Regions from separate parts of the Homo sapiens genome. Here region 2 is linked to region 1. Evidence: promoter capture Hi-C in 16 types of primary human blood cells and fetal thymus (Javierre and others, 2016). All regions are on one chromosome and are shown on one strand. Each heading gives the region's core, a stretch centred on a gene start or on the middle of the fragment in contact. The rest is flanking DNA. Distances are from core to core; before and after follow the strand shown.

Region 1 (4,567 bases), core at 284-2,783:
TAGTCACCTGCAATATGAGAGTAGGAATGTCCTGTGCTCCAACCCCCTTATTTTACTGATGAGGCCAAGGAGGTTCCCTGACTGCCTGAGAGCTCACAGTGGCAGAGAAGAGCTCAAACTCCGATCTTCTGCGCTGCAGGGGGTGTCTTCTCTCCCTTTGACAATTATAGGAACATCCCTCTCCCAGCGATGAGGTTGGCCCACTACTCCACTCAGCTTCTTTTGTCTAATAACTTGGCCACACCCTTGGTAGGTCCTATCTTATGCTATCCTTGGTCTCTCATGCTATTAGAAATTCCACATTTTTTTTTCCCGATCCTTTCTGGTGGGCATCTCTCTAGTGTGACTCCTCTCTTGAGGTTTTGGCTCTGGAGGGCTCTTTCCAACCCCAGAACATGTTCCTAGTCAGAGCCTTTTCTCCCAGTCTCTCACATCACTGCCACATGGTGGTTGCCTGGATTCAGTGGAGAAGGTGGCTGCAAACTCTAGTTGGACACTGACTACACAGATGGTTTCAACCAAACCCAGACTGTGCACTGCCTGCCTCCCCATAAAGCCTGTGAGGATGGGGACCATGACTCTTGCTCACCCCTGGATCCTGAGCCCCAGGAACAGTGGCTTGGACAAAATACTCTAGACCCTGCTCAGTGGCCAAATCACTGTGTGGTATAGAAAGAGTTCTGTGCCATCCACGAGACCCACTTCCAGACAGTTTTCCAGCACCACACTTATTAGCCCTGCCTTGATGGAGACAGCATCTCCTTGGCATTTAAGCAGTTATTTGGCTTCAAATGCCCTGAGCGCCCACACAGTGGTCCTTTGCTCACTAGGTGATATTATCACTCAGTGTGGAAGGCTCTGCCCCTCGTTCTGCTTTTGTGTTTTCAGTTAATCTCCCCCATCAGTCTGGTAGCTCCCGGTCCCATTTTTGTCTTTCTGTCTGTGTCCTAGAAGTATGACTACCTTTCCCTTTGGCCTGGGAACTTCTGTGGGCAAGTTCTTGCCTTTGACTTCCCTGTCAGTGCCCAGCCTGAGTTCTGAACATGAGTAGGGGTTCAGGAAGGGTGTGATCCAGGACGACACCCACCTTGTCGATGAAGGCCGCGAATCTGCTGTTGAGGGACTTGATCTGCTCCTTCTCCTCCTGCTTCACGCACTGCGCGTTGGGGTCTATCTCCAGGTTGAGGGGCGTGAGGAGGCTCTCGTTGACCGACACGGTGGTGATGCATGGGGGGCTGGGTCCGCACACGCCCCCGGAGCGGTAGCCGAAGCTGCGTCCGCAGGAGCCGGCGCGGAAGCCCCCGCACACGCTGTGGCTGCCAAAGCCCCCGGTGAGGCCGCGGTAGCAGGAGATGCCGCGGTAGGGGGCGGCGGTGATGCAGCAGCGGCTTGGCCGGGGCCCGCAGGCAGAGACACAGCTGAAGTTTCCAGGGCGGAACCCACAGCCTATGGAGTTGAAGCCACAGGTCATGACGGAGGTTAGGAGGTGTCTGAACAGTGGAGTAGATGGCAGAGGATGGAACCAAGGGCCTGTGCTCCCTGGCTGATGGCAGGCCCTTTTATGTGCCAGGGGCAGCTGGTGTTAAAAGAGGGAGCAAAGAGACAATAGCTGAATTTTATTGGCTTGGCATCACCCTGGCCTCTTAAGCTAGAACCCTGCTTGCCTCTTCAGTGTGGCTGCATCAACAATCCCTGGCCACGGGCCCTGTTTCATCTTCAAAGCCCTTTATAAGCTTCCTCCTTGCTCCTGCCCCTCCCACTGGCACTGCTGTGGAGCGGGGAGAGGGGTTCCTGAAAGCATTAGTTGCATTCTGCGGTCCAAGCGAGGGGAATGGGTGCAGTGACCTGGGGTAAAGCCTGCTCTCTGAACCCTGTTCTGAAAGGGGCAGAGCTAGGCTATGGGCCCTGGACCCATGGCCAAGCCCTGGGGTGGAGTGGCTGGCCTGTCCCAAGGAGGGGGCTGCCTCTGAGACAACCTCTTGCTGTAGGCTTTCCTGTCTTTTTCTCAAAGGCGGGTTCCTTTCCTCATTGTCAAGATTGGCCGCTCCTATCCTATTCCTGCTCAGAGCCTGGTCAAGGATGGGAGTGGGGGTAGAGATTTGGGGTGGGAGGAGGGCATGTTCTTTGCACTTTGGGTATTCCTAGTGCAGGGACACCATCTGGGACATGGAAGAAACTGATTCAGAGAGTTCAGGACAGTGCCAGGGCTATGCTTCAGAGTTCCAGGTGTCATTGCTGATGGGATCAGGAGCGGGGAGTGTGGAATACCTCAGAGCTCCAGGGACTCATGGAGGAGAGTGGGGACCTGGGCTTGAGGAGGATTGGGGTGGGGTAGTACAGGATTGAGAGATGACCAGAAAAGAGTCTGGCTCTGATTTGCAGACTAGACTATGTGTATTCATTTATTCATTTATTCATTTATTCATTTATTCAGGAAATACTTATTTGGTGCCCACCAACTATGCACTAGCCACTGTGCTAGGTTCTGGAAATCCTACAGAGACCTGGGGTGTTTGGAGGTAGCATGCATGTGGGGGAGCCAACATTTGGCTAGGGGGAAAGATGAGAAGCCACAGATGGGGGGAAGGCCCTCACAATGTCCAGGCTGATTGGTGTTCTTTAGGTTCCCAGCAGGGAAGCTCAGTGATGGGGTCTTGGGGTGTATGTACTCACCAGGAAGGAGGGAAGGTGCGGGAGGTGAGGGACATCAGCAGGGTCCTTAAATGAGATCACTCTCTCACCTCAGAGAACACACTGGGTGAGAGAAGGGTGCTAGCTCATGTGGCTGTTCCTAAAGCCAAGCTCTCTTACTTTGGGCCCTTGTTCCTTTGGGTTAGGACAGGCAATGGCTTTGATGGATGGACAGTCGGACCGAGCCAGGAGGTTTGCCTTAACCCGAGGACCTGAGCCCATCAACCCTTCCAAACACACATCTCTGGACTGCTTTCGTCAGGAGAGGATGAGGAGGACTCCACTGATGGACCTGTGTCCTGACCCAGCCACAACCCAACACTGACCCACTCTGGGCTAATAGTAACCCTCCTGTGACTCTCATCTTTTGCCCTTCCCACTCCCGCTCAGGATGAGTGGGCCAGTTATATCCCAGAGTGGGGATCTGGGGATGATGGAAGAGGGGCCCATCTTCTGTGGGCCTGAGGGAGGGCAGGCGATGGTGCTGTTGAAATCTCTTAGGGAGCTGGACATCTGCCATGGATCCAAAAAAAGGACTCTCCTAGCCTCTCTTCTTGGGTCCTGTGGACAGGCTTCCAGAGTCTTGTGTCTGGGGCAGGAACTCTGGGGGTGTGGGCTGTGTGATAGGGGATCCTGGTGTGAAAGACACACCAGGGAGGCACAGCCTGAGGGTACCTGGGGGGCCTGGGGGTGGCTGACTGCAGCTGAGTGGCTAGTGGGATTTTGGGAGCATCTTTGAGGGAGGCTGGGCTGGCTGGTGCTGTCATGTTCAGTCTTGGTTGGGTCAAACATCTGCTAGACAGCCAAGAAAGACCAGGCTCTTCACCCACCCACACTGGAACCAGTGAGCACCTGGAATGCTCTCCACACATATCCAATGATTATGGGGGATCTGTTTCTTGGTGAAATGCTGAGGACTGCAGGGCAGTGAACCCTCTGTGAAGCATTTCTCCATCACGATGCTGGAAACTGCGCTGCTGTCTTCTGACCTGGCTCATCTGTCTCAATCCAGCAGGCTTGGATCATGTTGGACCCCTCCACCGAGGGGCTCTGTGTAGACACATGACCTCCTTGGGATGGGGGAGCCATGACCATGCCCACCCCTGCCCTGATTGGCTCTGAAGATAGCATGGACCCTGGAGATAAAAAGACACAATTCGAAGCCCAACTATATCTCTTACTAGCTTTGTGCCATGGCACAGGCGTTTTCCCCCAGGGTCCTTACTTGTGAAATATAAATGGTAATCCACAGCTTGCTGGAGGTTGGGAGGACCGAGCGAGTGCCTGGTGGAGGGAAGCGCCACCCCCACCTCACTTTGTGCTAGCAGGGTGACTGGGTCTTGGTTGCAGGCACCTGGCAGGGCCTTGCAAAGGGACAGTGTACACGGCTAGTGAGATGCAGAGTACCATTCCTGGGTAAGCAGAAAGCAGTTTTACAAGGCAATCATTGCCGCCTCAGAAAGCCTTAATTAGAGCATCTATTTGTAAATGGCTCAGAACAAAGAGAACTGCAGACCAGGAGTCCCTTGAAAACAGACTTAGACAGGAAGCTGACAAAGAGACAGCAGCACCCAAATCCCCAGGCTGCCTCTTCCCTCCTGGGCTCCAGGCTGTGATTGGTTCCCGCCCTAACCATGGGCCCATAAAGGGTCCGGCAGAGCCACAGGCTGTTTCAGTCACCAGGGCCTGGACTCTGTGCCTGCCCTTCACACCTGGTCTGGGTTGGCCTGGAGGAATGACCGCTTGCCCTGTTGATCTGGTCCTCAGATTCCCACCTGTCTCTCTTGGGGTGCAACCCCCTGGCCTTATTCCTGTGTGCTTTTCTGGTGTCTACCTGCCTGTCTGCTGGGTTTCTGACACTCTGATACTCTGACTT
Region 2 (4,638 bases), core at 1,792-4,291, 150 kb before region 1:
GGCGCTGGGAACATAGGTCAACGTTGGTGCAGTCTCAGTGCAGCACAGTGTATTAGTCAGCCCAGGGGCCTGGCTGTGCTTATAGTGTGTTCTTAAACACACTATAAAGAAATCCCCTGGCTGGGCGCTGTGGCTCACACCTGTAATCCCAGTACTTTGGGAGGCCGAGGCGGGCAGATTACTTGAGGTCAGGAGTTTGAGACCAGCCTGACCAACATGGTGAAACCCCATCTCTACTAAAAATACAAAAGATTAGCCGGGGATGGTGGTGGGTGCCTGTAATCCCAGCTACTCGGGAGGCTGAGGCAGGAAAATTGCCTGAACCCGGGAGGCAGAGGTTGCAGTGAGCCGAGATCCAGCCACTGCACTCCAGCCTGGATGACAGAGCAGGATTCTGTCTCACACATACACACACAGACACACACACACAGACACACACATACACAAAAGAAAGAAATCCCTGAGACTTGGTAATTTATAAAGAAAAGACATTTATTTTGGCTCACAATTCTGCAGGCTGTACTGGCATGGCACCAACATTTGCTCAGCTTCTGGTGAGGGCCTCAGGAAGCTTACAGTAAAGGCGGAAGGTGAAGGGGGAGCAGGCATATCACATGGCGAGAAAGAGGGGAGAGGTCTCAGACTCTTTTAAACAACCATATCTATGTGAATTGAGTGAGAACTCACTCATCACCAAGGAGATGGTGCTGAGCCATTCATGAAGGATCCTCTCTCATGATCCAAATACTTCCCACCAGGCTCCACTTCCAACACTGGGAATTACATTTCAACATGAGATTTGGAGGGGACGAGCATCCAAACCATATCAGATGGTGAGACAGGAGAACTTTGTGTGTACCAGCTGCACTGGTCTGAAGATATAACTAAGTCCCTGGACTTTTTCTCCCTTAATTGGAGAATTCCTAATGTTCCATGATCAGCCTGATTGACCAGTGGCTGACTGGTCCTGAGAGGGGAGATAAAAACAGACACACAGCTTTCTCCATAGACAAATCTCAACACTTTATTCATCCTGTGGCAGCAAGAAGGGGACATGGCCCCAAGATAGCCAATCAGGTGAGGTGGCTGGAGTATGTGTTATCTTTCCAGATAGTACATACAGACTGATCATGCAGAAACAGGAAGGGAAGCAATAAGTTAAAAGCCACATAAGTTATGAAAAAATAATATATACTTTATATGTCTTGTATCCCCACTGAGGATTTGCTCCCTTGGAAACCAATGAAGAGCCTGAGGAAAAGCACCAATCAGCACCCTCTTTTGGGACTTTGGGGATGAGAATCTCTGAGTTCCCATGGCCAGAGAGTCAGTAACCCTCCAGTGCTCCCCACAGGCCTGGAGGGCCTTGAGGCCTGGGATGGGCCCAGACCTCTGGCCAACATGTCCTGGCAAATGAGATGAATGAATCTAATGCAGTCTAGAAGAGGAGGTGAGGCAAGGGGCAGGGAGGGGAGAGGAGAGTGAAGGAGGGAAGGAAGCTGTGCAGTGGGAGGCTGGTGCCGCTGGGATGCCTCTGCAAGCCTCAGCATTGAGAGCCAAGAGGAGGAGATAGGAGTATGCCTGCCAACACCCCTGTCTTCTGGTGGGATGTGGAATTTTCCTCTCTGGTAGAACCCTTGTAAGGCTGTCATTTGGGCCCCACAGCTGGACCTCAAGGGCTTGGAAGCTCCCAGACTTGCCTGGACTGTGCCTTCTTCCTGGCCTGCTGGAGGCAGGGGGAGTGGGCATGGAGGGAGGAAGGGGAAGGAGTGAGAAGAAAGGAGGAGCTCTAACCCCATAGGTGTGGGGGGTTCCTGGGCTCCCCCATGAATGCCAAGGAGGGGAGGGCCAGGCTATTTGGCCCAGTGGAGAGGAGAACAGAGGCCCTGAGAAGTGAGATTCTTGGGAAGTGGGCCTGGGGCTTCACGGCAGGGGTGGGACCAGGGGTCTCCAAGGCCTGGTGCACCAAAGCCCGGTGCTCAGGCTGGGAACAACCCGGCTGGGGGCACAGAGCTCAGATCCAGGCTGGGTAGGACCCCAGCATGGCAGGGAGGTGAAAGGAAGATCGAATGCTCCTGCCCAATCTCAAGCTGCCATCTGGCTTCCACTCCCAGGGAGTTGATTATGGCAAGAGCAGCTTCCGGAGAAGCTGCTGGGAGCTGGCTGGGGGCAGCCCATCCAGTTCTGACTACTGCCTACTGGGAGGGACCCATGGGAGGAGGAAGGGATGCGGGTGTTCGGGCTGATCTCTGGGGCCTAGGCTTAGGTCCCAAATAGCCAGGGCCCCTCCTCCCTTCACTCCCTAATACTGTCAGGTCTCTGGGGAGCCCAAAGAGCACGGGAAAGCCAAGAGGGTCTTCAGCAGCCAGCCTTCCCAGGAATTCCAGATACAGGACAGGGCCCACGCCGTCCTCCTCGGCTCCCGCACATAGGTGGATGAGCCAGTCCCAGTCCCAGTTCCGAGGCAGAGACAAGGCAAGGCTTGAGATAGGAGTCAAGGTCAAGGATTGGGCAAGAGTCAGAGGGGCCTTGGCAGAGCCTGATGCTGGAGGAGGAGCCTCAGAGGAGCGAGGAGGTGGAGACAAAACTGACCCCTAATTCCGACTCACCCATCAGGAAAACCTCTGGCCAGAAGGTTGGAAGGATGGGACTGTGAGATACTGATATGGAGCGGAGTGGCTCTGAGGAGCTGGTGATGCTCCTCTCCCACCCTGGCAGCCCACAAAACACAGTCAGTTTTGAACCCCTCTCTCAGTTCAATATCAGGTTTTGCCTCTCTTCTCAACCTAGAGGCTCCAAGCTGCTTTCTTGAGTCTAGCTTAAGTCCCTCCTGCTGCAGTGGAGTGCCCTGGGGTTCCTGGGGTCCAGCCGCCTTACTCTGAGACCTCCGACTCCTGCGAGAAGTACTTCTCTGACATTTCGGTGATTTTGATCACGGGGCCTTTGCTGCCCTTCTTCTTTCGGGAGGGGGCCTTGGAGAGGCCTGATCTGGAGGCAGCTACAGGGAACATAAGGGGTAGGGGAGGGAAGGGGCTGGAGGTTTGGGAGCCACTTAAAATGATGCCTTTAGGATCATGATCCCCTACACCCTCACCCTCACCCCACCATGGGTTCTCGGGGCAAGAGGACTCACCGGTTTTGCACCTGGACTGCACAGCGCTGACCACAGTGGCTGAGGGCGAGTCCATCCTGGGGGTGGGGGACGGGGGGGTGGGAGAGGGATATGATGGGATGCGAAGAGAGCCTGTGGCTTAAACTCCCCTGGGGGCTGGCAAGTGGAGGGTAGTTCTTGGTGGTCACTCCCAGCCCTGGGGTTGCCCTGTTGTGTGGCCCTGGCTAGCCAGCTTGTCCTTCCTGGGCCTCTGTCCCATCTCCATGGCATAAATGGCTAATAGCATTGAGCACTGAGTTTTGACAGGCATTTGCAGGCATAATCACATGAATCATCCCTGCCACAGGTGAACCATGTTTATGATCAGCCCACTTTCCAGATGGGGAAACAGGATGAAATGAACTGGGCCAAGGTCCCAGTTTGTAAGTGACTAAGCCAAGACTTAAACCCAGGCCTGGTAGGCTCACTGTATCATATTGGAAAGGAGAACTGACTTTGTGTAGGCCTGGGCCTCCAGCCCTCCTTCCCCTGCAGCCCTTCCTCACCAGCCCTGGCTCTCACCTGCCCTCCTCGCCCTCCACCAGCTTCCTGTAGGTGGCGATCTCGATGTCCAGGGCCAGCTTGACGTTCATCAGCTCCTGGTACTTGCGCAGCTGCCGCGCCATGTCCTGCTTGGCCTGCTGCAGGGCGGCCTCCAGCTGGGCCAGCTTGGTCTTGGCATCCTGGAAGGCCAGCTCACCCTGCTCCTCAGCTGTCTTGATGTTCTCCTCCAGTTTCAGGCACTGCAGCCAGGAGGACAGAGTGAAAGGGCCTGTGAGCAGGGGAAGGAGGAGCGGGCCAGGGCCAGGAGTCGTCTCTGTCCTTGGTGGGGGTAGGTGTGGGGAGGGAGGGCTGAGCAATGGCATTTCTGGGTGTGGTAACTGGTTGCCATGCAGCAAGAGGGAGTTCAGTTAGACCTGAAGAGGCACCTTCCCAAGGCCAGAGGAAAGCACCGCAAGCCACTAAAGGAGCCTGTCCCGGCTGTCCTTATGGGGCAGCACCTGCCCTGAAGGTTTGTCCTGGCTGGAAGCTGGGACTTAGGCCTCTACTCCCTCCTCTCTGTGTAGTTGGTGGGGGTTCCCAGGAGGGAGGCAGTGGGCTCTGGGTGTGTGTAGTGTGGGGGCTTTCTAACGTTCCAGCAGCCTTGACCAGATTACAGAGTATTTTTGTATGCAGAGCGCCTCATAACTACTTTAGGAGGCTGTGCTATTATCCCATTTGACAGATTAGGAAACTGAGGCACAGAGGCGCTAAGCGACCCACACAGGGTCACTCAGTCATGTCTTGCCTGTATTCAGCACACATGACTGTGTGTCTCCCTGCTCTCCTCCCCGCCCCCAGGCGCGTCCCCCAGATACTCACATGGCTCTTGACAGAGAGGATCTGGGACCGCAGCTTCTGGATGCGCACATTGAGATCCGCGATCTCGCTGCGGCTGCTCTGGAGGCTGCTCCCATACTCGGCCGAGCGGGCGGCCTGCTCCTCCA

The links. Contacts are between HindIII fragments. The CHiCAGO score rates a contact against its expected background, and 5 or more counts as called.
Region 2: a contact is called between a fragment that was not itself captured here and the fragment with the promoter of KRT83 in region 1, in 3 of 17 cell types (naive CD4 T cells, M1 macrophages and total CD4 T cells). The highest score is 5.8, in naive CD4 T cells.

What each region holds. Positions count from the first base shown.
Region 1 is chr12:52,319,865-52,324,431 of GRCh38, forward strand. It overlaps KRT83 (keratin 83), which reads right to left and starts at 1,534. Exons shown (of 9, transcript NM_002282.3): 1 at 1,088-1,534. The coding sequence starts at 1,471. The HindIII fragment of the contact is 9,694 bases long and covers 1-1,731 here.
Region 2 is chr12:52,168,525-52,173,162 of GRCh38, forward strand. It overlaps KRT80 (keratin 80), which reads right to left. Exons shown (of 9, transcript NM_182507.3): 6 at 4,514-4,638; 7 at 3,674-3,894; 8 at 3,134-3,189; 9 at 472-2,998. The coding sequence ends at 2,874. Among named protein-coding and RNA genes, the nearest start is that of KRT80, 21 kb to the right of the region's middle. The HindIII fragment of the contact is 4,944 bases long and covers 570-4,638 here.